2 separate regions of the Homo sapiens genome follow, and region 1 is linked to region 2. Evidence: promoter capture Hi-C in human tissues and cell types (Jung and others, 2019). All regions are on one chromosome and are shown on one strand. Each heading gives the region's core, a stretch centred on a gene start or on the middle of the fragment in contact. The rest is flanking DNA. Distances are from core to core; before and after follow the strand shown. Region 1 overlaps TRERF1 (transcriptional regulating factor 1). Region 2 holds the start of RPL7L1 (ribosomal protein L7 like 1).

Evidence for each region. The method cuts DNA at HindIII sites, captures the fragments that hold promoters and counts their contacts. A contact is called where the count stands out against the background at its distance.
Region 1: a contact is called between a fragment that was not itself captured here and the fragment with the promoter of RPL7L1 in region 2, in 1 of the 25 tissues and cell types used here (lymphoblastoid cells).

Annotation. Positions count from the first base shown.
Region 1 is chr6:42,258,672-42,263,313 of GRCh38, reverse strand. It overlaps TRERF1 (transcriptional regulating factor 1), which reads left to right. Exons shown (of 18, transcript NM_001395490.1): 9 at 3,591-3,975. Among named protein-coding and RNA genes, the nearest start is that of MRPS10, 43 kb to the right of the region's middle. RefSeq lists enhancers at 2,102-2,151, 2,089-2,609, 2,610-3,130. The HindIII fragment of the contact is 5,320 bases long and covers 1-4,642 here.
Region 2 is chr6:42,876,121-42,880,990 of GRCh38, reverse strand. RPL7L1 (ribosomal protein L7 like 1) reads right to left here and starts at 1,375. Exons shown (of 6, transcript NM_001366481.3): 1 at 1,040-1,375; 2 at 25-130. The coding sequence starts at 1,080. RefSeq lists enhancers at 1,114-1,173, 449-1,405, 1,194-1,663, 1,406-2,363. The HindIII fragment of the contact is 12,927 bases long and covers 1-4,870 here.

The DNA of each region.
Region 1 (4,642 bases), core at 993-3,492, 620 kb after region 2:
ATGACCCTCTCTCCCCCACACTCACCCCAAGGGGCTGCCCCCCGCACGCCTGCTGTGAGTTGCTGCTCTGCCCCACCTGCCTGGGTGGGGACATCCCTTTGCTTTCTTGGAGATGGGGCGGCCCTTCCAGAGTCACTGACCTGAGCTTGGATACGGCTTGGTCTCTCAGGGCTGAACCCGTGGCCACATTGGGAACCCTACCCTTGTTCACACTGCCTGCTCCCCATTAAATGCCAAACTAATGGCCTAGGTTAGATTCTGAGAGACCCGAAAGTGTTCCCAGGTTTAAACAGAGACGATCATTCAGCTGGGAGTCACTGAGACAATCATAGCCATTATTGAAATATGGAAGTCCTGTATCCCAGAAAGTAAGCAGCTGTTGCCCCAGGCCCTGGCCCCTTCCCCAGGATCTCCAGACCTCCCAAATCCACAACCAAAGAGGTAACCACTGGCGCAGCAGGCTTCCAGGCAATAGCCCTGGCATCCATTCTGACAAGCAGCCTTACCAGTTGCTTAATATTTTTGTCTGCTTAAATACCCTGGAGAACCTAATTCGTTAAAGTTCCCAAAGTAGTTCCACTGAGAGCCACCCACCCCTAATCTCAGGAAAGCAAAGAGATTTGTTTTTCTCACTCACTGTTCTCCTTTCTCCAATTTTAAGTGCTTCACTCAAACAGCTTAATTTGCCTCTGGGAAGGGTTTCCGTCTGTCTGTCTCTCTCTCTCTCTCTCTCTCTCTCTCTCTCTCTCTCTCTCTCTCTCTCTCTCTCTCTCTCTCTCTCTCTCTCTCTCTCTCTCTCTCTCTCTCTCTCTCTCTCTCTCTCTCTCTCTCTCTCTCTCTCTCTCTCCTCTCTCTCTCTCTCTCTCTCTCTCTCTCTCTGCCCCTAGGGAATTTGTGACCTGTGTGGTTGGCAATATCAAACCTACCCCCTCCCCACAAAGTGGCATGTTGGGTCATATTTGTCCTTAGGAATAGGTAGCTGCTGGGAATCCAGGAGGCATAAGGGTAGGCTGGGCCAGGGTAGAGGGAGAGAAGATAATGAATACAACTAGAAAAGTACAGAAAAAAACCTTTATGGTGTAATATCAAGTCCTCAAAAGAAGAGAAACTGATGGAGAACTGGGGGGAAGATTCTCATAAGCCGTCAGGACTTGGGGGTCAGCAACAGGCAGAGAGATGAAATGACACATCCAAGCTCCCTCTTTGCCCAGGGAAGTTCGTGCTTTGGCAGGAGAAACAGTGTTTCCTTGGGGAAATAGTTCCCTTGGGGAACTCTCAATTAAGAGTTCATAGTCACATGGGGGTCAGAGTCCCAGGCACACCCCCCCCACCCCTTCAAGATGGTAAGAGAAAGACAGGGGCAGACAAGAAATTGATGCTTTAAGTGTGACTGGATGAGAATACACCTGGGTAGCCAAAGTCATTATGGACTGGGGAGGGGCAAGGGAGTTTGCTCAGGAGATCACCATTAGAGTTCTGAGCAGGATTTTGAAGGAAGGGATGAACTTGGCTTAATGGAAGGGTGAGAGAGACCTCGTTGGTGGGGGCGGTAGGCTGAAGTGGAAGCATGTAGGTGGGACTGAATACATGGGAACAAGGCCCTGGCACTTAATGTAAAGAAATTAAAACATCCAGGAAGGAGCCCCGAGTGCCCATCTCAGTTTGGCTCCTAGCCAGCTGGGATGAAGACAGCTGAGACCTGCCCCCCACTCACAGCCTCAGTTTCCTCCCCTGACCTTGATAGGGTTGGACTCATCAGTGGTTCTCATCCTTCTCTGTGGGCAGCTTTTTAAAGTTTTCAGTGCTTGGCCTCACCCCCAAAGTGTCCAAATAGCTTGGTGGGGTGGAACACTGTAAGTGTTTCCTCTCAAGTGACAACCATATATGACATCCTGGGTGGCTTCTCTTGCCCAGTGGCTCAGAGCCTTGCCTGGAGGATCGGAAAATCCAGGTTTAGAGCTGGAGTAACAGGACAAGAAGCTGGAGGAGAGGGAGCCCAAAAGGGACCTCTGGCCCTGTGATCAGAGGTCTGGATTGCAGTGCTGCGTTGAGATCATATAAGGTCTGCATGTTCTTGGATGATCTTATCTGTTACCCGGGAACAGAGTGTATCTTCAGGGCTGCTCCCCTTGGGGGGGGCACAGGCCTCCTTCCCCCATTCTCCTCAGCCCCTCTCTCGCCTCAGCCTCAGGCGCTGAGGAGCCCTCTGGTGGAGAAAAGAGGCGGTTGAGCGCGCTGGCCTAAGGAGGGTCCCCTGGGGGTGAGGCGCGGGGATAGGGGAGGGGTGGGGGCGGGGGTAGTTAGGAACCTCACTCTGGAGCCGGGAGCCTGGGACCCTCTGCCCCCTCCTCCTTTCCCCACTCTCTGCCTCCCTAGACTCCTCTCCTAGAGGCCAGGATGGCACCATGGAAGGCAGAGAAGCTGAGGGAGAAACAGAAGGGGGCAGAGCCTGAAGCTCTGGAGGGAGAGGAGCCCAGAGCAGAGGAGCCCATGGGGCAGGTCACATGGCCTGGAGGCAGATGGTCACATGACCGTAGCCAGCCCTTCCCATCACCCCCTGCTGCTTCCTACCCAGGCGCCACCCTGGGCTCAGGAGTCTCCAGGACCTGCAGCTGTGACTGGCCCCTGGCCTGCAGGGCCTGAGAGGGCACCCCAGACTGCCCAGAACCTTCCCTCAGGTATCCCCGTGGCCCCTCCCAACCACACTGCCTCTGCAGCCACACCCAGCTCTCGACTTTTCTGGGCTGATGCTACCACACAACCCGAGTCTGTTTCTGTTTGGCTTTGGCATGCCCTGCTCATCTGTTTACGTGCCTATGTTTACTTATTAGTATATATGTATCCATGTGGCAGATCCTCCTTCCAGACTATGCTTGGTTCCGCTGCCATTAAAATAAACTAACTCTCCTGACAGGAAGCCAACCTCAGAGAAGAGTTTGCTACAAATAAGCTACGAGTTCTGGGAGCAATAGTGAGGGGTGGTGACGGGGGAGGTTAACCAGATCCGTTTTTAGGTGAGCACATGGAAGGGCCCTTAGAGGTCATCGAAGGCTCTCCCCCCCTGCTGAAAGTGACCCAGGAGAGCCCGGTGTGGGTCGCTGGCCTTAGGAACCTTGGCTAGGCTTGAACCCCCACTTCCTGCCTCACAGGTCTCGGTCCCAGCTTCCCTGAAGAGATTATTCTGTCCCCTTCTCAGAACATGTGGTATCTGTTCCTGATGTCCGTCCCTGGGGAGCAATGGGGGAATTAAAGAGCCCACTCAGCTGGATTCCACTCAAACAGATGGGAATGTAGTGATAAGCAATAAAGAATTTGAATTTATTACTTCTTGCCCACCCACTATTCCTACCACCCCCAGCTCTTTCAGAAATTAGGGATTTCTTCCAAAACCTTAGTTTTCTCCCTAGTCTAGCAACCAGAACTCGCTTTGCCTAAAATGGATGTGGTCAGAATGTGGGGGCGTTGGGGGTGGGGGGGTCAAGCAGAAGGGCTCTCTGCTTAGACAGTAGAAGGCCCCCTTCCCTGAACCTGTGGAAATGGCCTGCGGGGGAAGCTGAAGTATTCGAATCAGATCGTTGTTCCGGTTTTAGGAAATCCCCAGGAAGCATCAGCCGAGTGTGCCCAAAGCCGAGGAGCCCCTCAAGACCGTGCAGGAGAAGAAAAAGTTCCGGCACCGGCCGGAACCTCTCTTCATCCCGCCGCCGCCCTCCTACAACCCGAACCCCGCTGCCTCCTACTCGGGCGCCACCCTGTACCAGAGCCAGCTGCGCTCCCCGCGCGTCCTCGGGGACCACCTGCTCCTGGACCCCACCCACGAGCTGCCCCCTTACACGCCCCCACCCATGCTGAGCCCGGTGCGCCAGGGCTCGGGGCTCTTCAGCAATGTCCTCATCTCCGGCCACGGCCCTGGCGCCCACCCGCAGCTGCCCCTGACGCCCCTGACGCCCACACCACGGGTGCTGCTGTGTCGCTCCAGTGAGTCACCCCTTTAGCGTCCTCCTGGGCTCTGGGTGCTGGGTAAAGTCCTGGGACATCTCGTTTTCTTTAGCTTTCTCATTTATCCCACAGACTTTTGCGGAGTATTGGCTGTATGTAGCACGCGCTGCTGGGTGTTAAGAAAGACTTGGAATACATAGCCCTTATCCTCAAGGGAATCGCAGTCTAATTGGGAGACAGATGCATAAAGTGATCACTACAGTCTCTGGGATAAGGAAACAGTTGAAATGTTCACCCACTTTTTAAGGCTGCCAGCAATGATCGTGCAAGAGAGAAAAAATGAGACCGGGCGCGGTGGCTCACACCTGTAATCCCAGCGTTTTCGGAGGTCGAGGCGGGTGGATCACTTGAGGCCGGGAGTTGGACACCAGCCTGGCCAACATGGTGAAACCCCGTCTCTACTAAAAATACAAAAATTAGCCGGGCATGGTGGCACGCACCTGTAATCCCAGCTACTTGGGAAGCTGAGGCAGGAGAATCGCTTAAACCTGGGAGGCAGAGGTTGCAGTGAGCCAAGATCATGCCACTGCACTCTAGCCTGGGGGATGAGAGTGAAACTCCGTCTCAAAAAAAAAAATAACGGGATGTGGTAGCAGGCACCTGTAGTTCCAGCTACTCAGGAGACTGAGGCAGGAGAATCTCTTGA
Region 2 (4,870 bases), core at 126-2,625:
TTTCTCTTGGTTCCCCACCATTACCTCCTTCTTTGCCAAAAGTGCCTGCTTTGCCTGGGTGGCTTTGAGGGCTTGATAAGCCTTCCTCTTTTTCAGGAGATTTTCTGGAACCAAAGGGATTTTTCTTTGCCTGATGCAGAAAATTGAGATCAGAGATAACATTTAGAAAAGAACACTTGGCCGGGCTCGGTGGCTCAAGCCTGTAATCCCAGCACTCTGGGAGGCCGAGGTGGGTGGATTACCTGAGGTCAGGAGTTCGAGACCAGCCTGACCAACATGGTGAAACCCCCGTTTCTACTAAAAATAAAAAATCAGCTGGGCGTGGTGGCGCACGCCTGTAATCCCAGCTACTCGGGAGACTGAGGCAGGAGAATCGCTTGAACCCGGGAGGCGGAGGTTGCACCGAGCCGAGATCCCGACACTGCGCTCCAGCCTGGGGGACAGAGCAAGACTCCGTCTCAAAACAAAAACAACAACAAAAAAGAAAACGAACATTCAATGGATTTCCAAACCAATTCAATATCCTGGGCTTTAGGGAACATTACTGTTTTCAAGTATCTGAAGAAAGATTCCCCTGAAACCTGCGGTTTCTGACTCCAGGCCTCATAAATCCATCCCTAATAGTCACTCATCCCCAAAGCCTCGGAAAATAATGAATCCTTTAGCCTCTGGGTTCGTATAAGTTAACAGGGTTTTCACGGCCACAGTTCTTCATAGGCACTAGCAGCGACGAATCTATGGGGTTGGGGCGGGGGCAGGCCTATCTGCAGAGTTAACACTTGTCGGGCTGGGTGAATTCAACTGTGGCACTCCAGCCCGCTGCCTGAAGTCAATCCTCGCCTCTCCAGATAACCCGAACTTGACCGCGGTCCCCTCCCTCCTCCGCCACAGCGCTACTCCTCCTCACCCCCACCCTTTGTAAACTGTGGCCTTTTCTATTCCTAGAGCCCACAGGAATCCGCCACCAAGGCATAAACACCGTGGATGGCACCGGATACTCAAGACCCCACTCCAGATATTCAAAGCCCCAAACACTCACTCTTGCTCCGCCATCTTTCTAGTGGTGCAGCTACTGATCATGCGCAACCCCACCACATGGGGAAGACAGCACACGCTCTGTTTACTTGACCATAGAGACGTCTGTTCTAGCTCACGCTGGAGGACCAGTCAGCGTTCACTTAGCCGCAGTGAGCCCTTGAGGTCCCGCTAACCCCGATTCCTGCCAAAAGTTGCACCGCTTCTTAGGGTTTTTAGAGCCTGTGTTATTTTCAAAACCCAGCCCTTTTCTTGTAAGTTACAGTTTCATCACAAGCGGCCTGGCTGTGGACAGCAAAGTGCTTCCCACAATGCACCTATGGCGTCCGCTCCTAGCTACGGCGCCGCACTTCCGGCGCGGCTGTGCTGCGTCTCTGGGGAGGAAGACAGGCAAACTCCGCGAAACATTTTCGCTCTGTGGAAAAACTTGGAGGCTATGGCTTTGGCTCTCACGTGTAGGTGGAAGTGTTTGTTGAGGACTTAGAGTGGTAAAGCAGGTAGCTGCAATTCCGTCTGCTTGGCCCCGTCGATGCGTCCTTGAACACGTTATTTAACCCCTCTATACTGCGGCTTCATTACCCATAAAATGGGTGTACAGTAATAATAGGTCTACCTAATGGCGTTACGAGGATTACAGGAGATTAGATAAAGCGTTTAGCAGTGTCTGTCAGCACTATGTTTGTTACTATTACTGCTGGACCGAAAACTACAACATGCTTCCTTCCCGTCTAAAACCGTTACACAGGCCGGGCGCGGTGGCTCACGCCTGTAATCCCAGCACTTTGGGAGGGAGGCCGAGACGGGAGGATCACCTGAGGTCAGGAGTTCGAGATCAGCCTGGCCAACACGGCGAAACCCCGTCTTGGGCGGAGGTTACAGTGAGCCGAGATCGCGCCACTGCCCACCAGCCTGGGCGACAGAGCAAGACTCCGTCTCAAAAAAACAAAAAGAAAAGAAAAGAAAAAAAAAGAATAAAAATAAAACCCTTATGCAGCTCTCATCGCCCGGAATTTGCGTTCTTCCCTCCCAGTCTATATAGAATCCTGAAAAACAGTAGGTCGGGCCGGTGGCTTTCACCTGTAATCCCAGCACTTTGGGAGGCCAAGGCAGGTGGATCACTTGAGGTCAGGAGTTGGAGACCAGCATGGCTAAGATGGTGAAACCCCGTCTCTACTAAAAATACAAAAAATTAGCTGGGCGTGGTGGCTCGCGCCTGAAGTCCCAGAAGGCGGAGGCTGCGTGAGCCGAGTTTGTGCCACTTGCACTCCAGCCTGGGCGACAGAGCGAGACAGTCTCAAAAAAAACAAGAAATAAATTTTTTTTAAAATTAAAAATCCTGAAAAACAACACAAGTCTTATCATCTCTGGAAACCTCCAGAGCAGCGCTTCTCAAGCATTAATAGTGAATAGGAGTCACCTGAAGATTTTACTAAAATACAGATTTTTATTCAGGAGGCCGGGTGGGGAGCTGATATTCTGCTTTTTTTTTTTTTTTTTTTTTGAGATGGCGTCTCGCTCTGTCGCCCAGGCTGGAGTGCAGTGGCGCGATCTTGGCTCACTGCAAGCTCCGCCTCCCGGGTTCACGCCATTCTCCTGCCTCAGCCTCCCGAGTAGCTGGGACTACAGGCGCCCGCCACCACGCCTGGCTAATTTTTTGAATTTTTAGTAGAGATTTCACCTTGTTAGCCAGGATGGTCTCGATCTCCTGACCTCGTGATCCGCCCGCCTCGGCCTCCCAAAGTGCTGGGATTACAGGCGTGAGCCACCGCACCTGGCCAATATTCTGCATTTTTAACAGGCTTCAGAGTGACGCTGGTGCTACTGGTCTATGGGCTGACTAGTAAGACTCTAGAGTAGTGTCTGATTTCCCTCAGGACATTATTATATTTTTAATATTTCTTCCACATGATACTAGGGGGGGCAGGAACCATGACTGCTTACTCATCACTGATCCTAAGGATCTAGCACCAATTTCTCGATTTTGGCACTATTGATACTGATACTGGTGGCAGCTAAAGGCCTCGTGTTGCCATGTAACTAGTCCAACCGGAAAGAGTGCCATGGGCACAGGTCACTTTCTGATGAGTAAGTGTCAGGACAACCCAGCATTCAAGGTCACACACTGAAAGAGGGAGGCTCATTCTCTTTCAGCACCTCACCATGTGTCTTTGTAAAGAGGCTAAACACAAGGGTCACCAAAGTGTAAGACATTCACTAAATAGTAAACAAAAAAGCAAAAAGTTAAATGTTTTGTGATTTTTCCTGTCTATGGATAAAAGGTAGAGTCTGTGGTACCAATAATATTAAAAGGAGGAGGAATTTTAGGGTTAACAATACTTCAGCCAGGCGGCGATGGCTCACGCCTGTAATCCCAGCACTTTGGGAGGCCGAGGCAGGCAGATCACTTGAGCTCAGGAGTTCAAGACCATCCTCAGCAACATGGCAAAACCCTGTCTCTACCAAAAATACAAAAATTAGCCGGGCATGGTGGCACATGTCTGTAGTCAGCTACTTGGGAGGCTGAGGCACGAGAATTGCTTGAACCTGGGAGGCGGAGGTTGCAGTGAGCCGAGATTATGCCACTGCACTCCAGCCTGGGCAACAGAGCAAGAATCTGTGTCAAAACAACCCCCAAAAAACCAGTACTCCAAGACTGAATGGGATTGAGGCCAGGATTCAGGAATGGCTTTCTACTGCCAGCAGATGGTGCTAGGAGAATACTTATTCTCAGTGCCAATCCCCTTACTCCACCAGACTGACAAAGGGAAAAAGAAAGGAGCCCCACCTCTTAAACAATTATTCACTAACTGAATATGTGTTTATTGAGCATTGAGCATGTGTCCTAGATTTTTTTTCAAAGTGAGGTTACTGAGGTCAGGTGTGGTGGCTCATGCCTGTAATCCCAGCACTTTGGGAGGCTGAGGCAGGCAGATCGCCCGAGGCCAGAAGTTCAAAACCAGCCTGGCCATCATGGTGAAACCCCATCTCTACTAAAAATACAAAAATTAGCTGGGTGTGGTGGCGCATACCTGTAATCCTAGCTACTTGGGAGGTTGAGGCACGAGAATCGGTGCACTCCAGCCTGGGCGACAGAGTGAGACCTTGTCTCCCCCCACCAAAAAAAAAAAAAAAATTCCAGTCCTCTTGTGAACTTATTTCCTCTTCATCATGTACATTTGGGCAGCTGTTGGGAGGATATCAAATCCAAACGCTTGCCCTCCAATACTTAAACTGAAGGAGTCTTTGGAAGATCTTTTCAATTCTTTTCATCACCCCATTGGGAGTGGGTATGAGATGCTAAATTTCTCTGTGATTTTGAATTTTAAGCAGAGTGATGATGGAACAAAGCACCAGATTTGAGACAAGACTTTTTTTTTTTTCGTTTTTATTTTTATTTTTTTTTTGAGACAAAGTCTTGCTCTGTCGTCCAGGCTGGAGTGCAGTGGTGCAATCTTGGCTCACTGCAACCTCTGCTTCCCAGGTTCAAGCAATTCTCGCGCCTCAGCCTCCCGAGTAGCTAGGATTACAGGCGTGTGCCACCACGCCCGGCTAATTTTTGTATTTTTAGTAGAGATGGGTTTCACCATGTTGGCCAGGCTGCTCTCGAACTCTTGACCTCAAGTGATCTGCCCACCTCGACCTCCCAAAGTGCTGGGATTACAGGTATGAGCCACCGCACCCAGTCAGGGGCAAAACTTTTAACGATTTCCACCTAAGAAAACCTCCTAGAGTTTCTTTGTCTCTGTCCTTCTCAAGCCTCATGGGTTCTTCAATTTTTTAATTCTTATCTTCCTTACAAAATCCCTTTATGTTGGTTAACTAGAATAATTTTCTG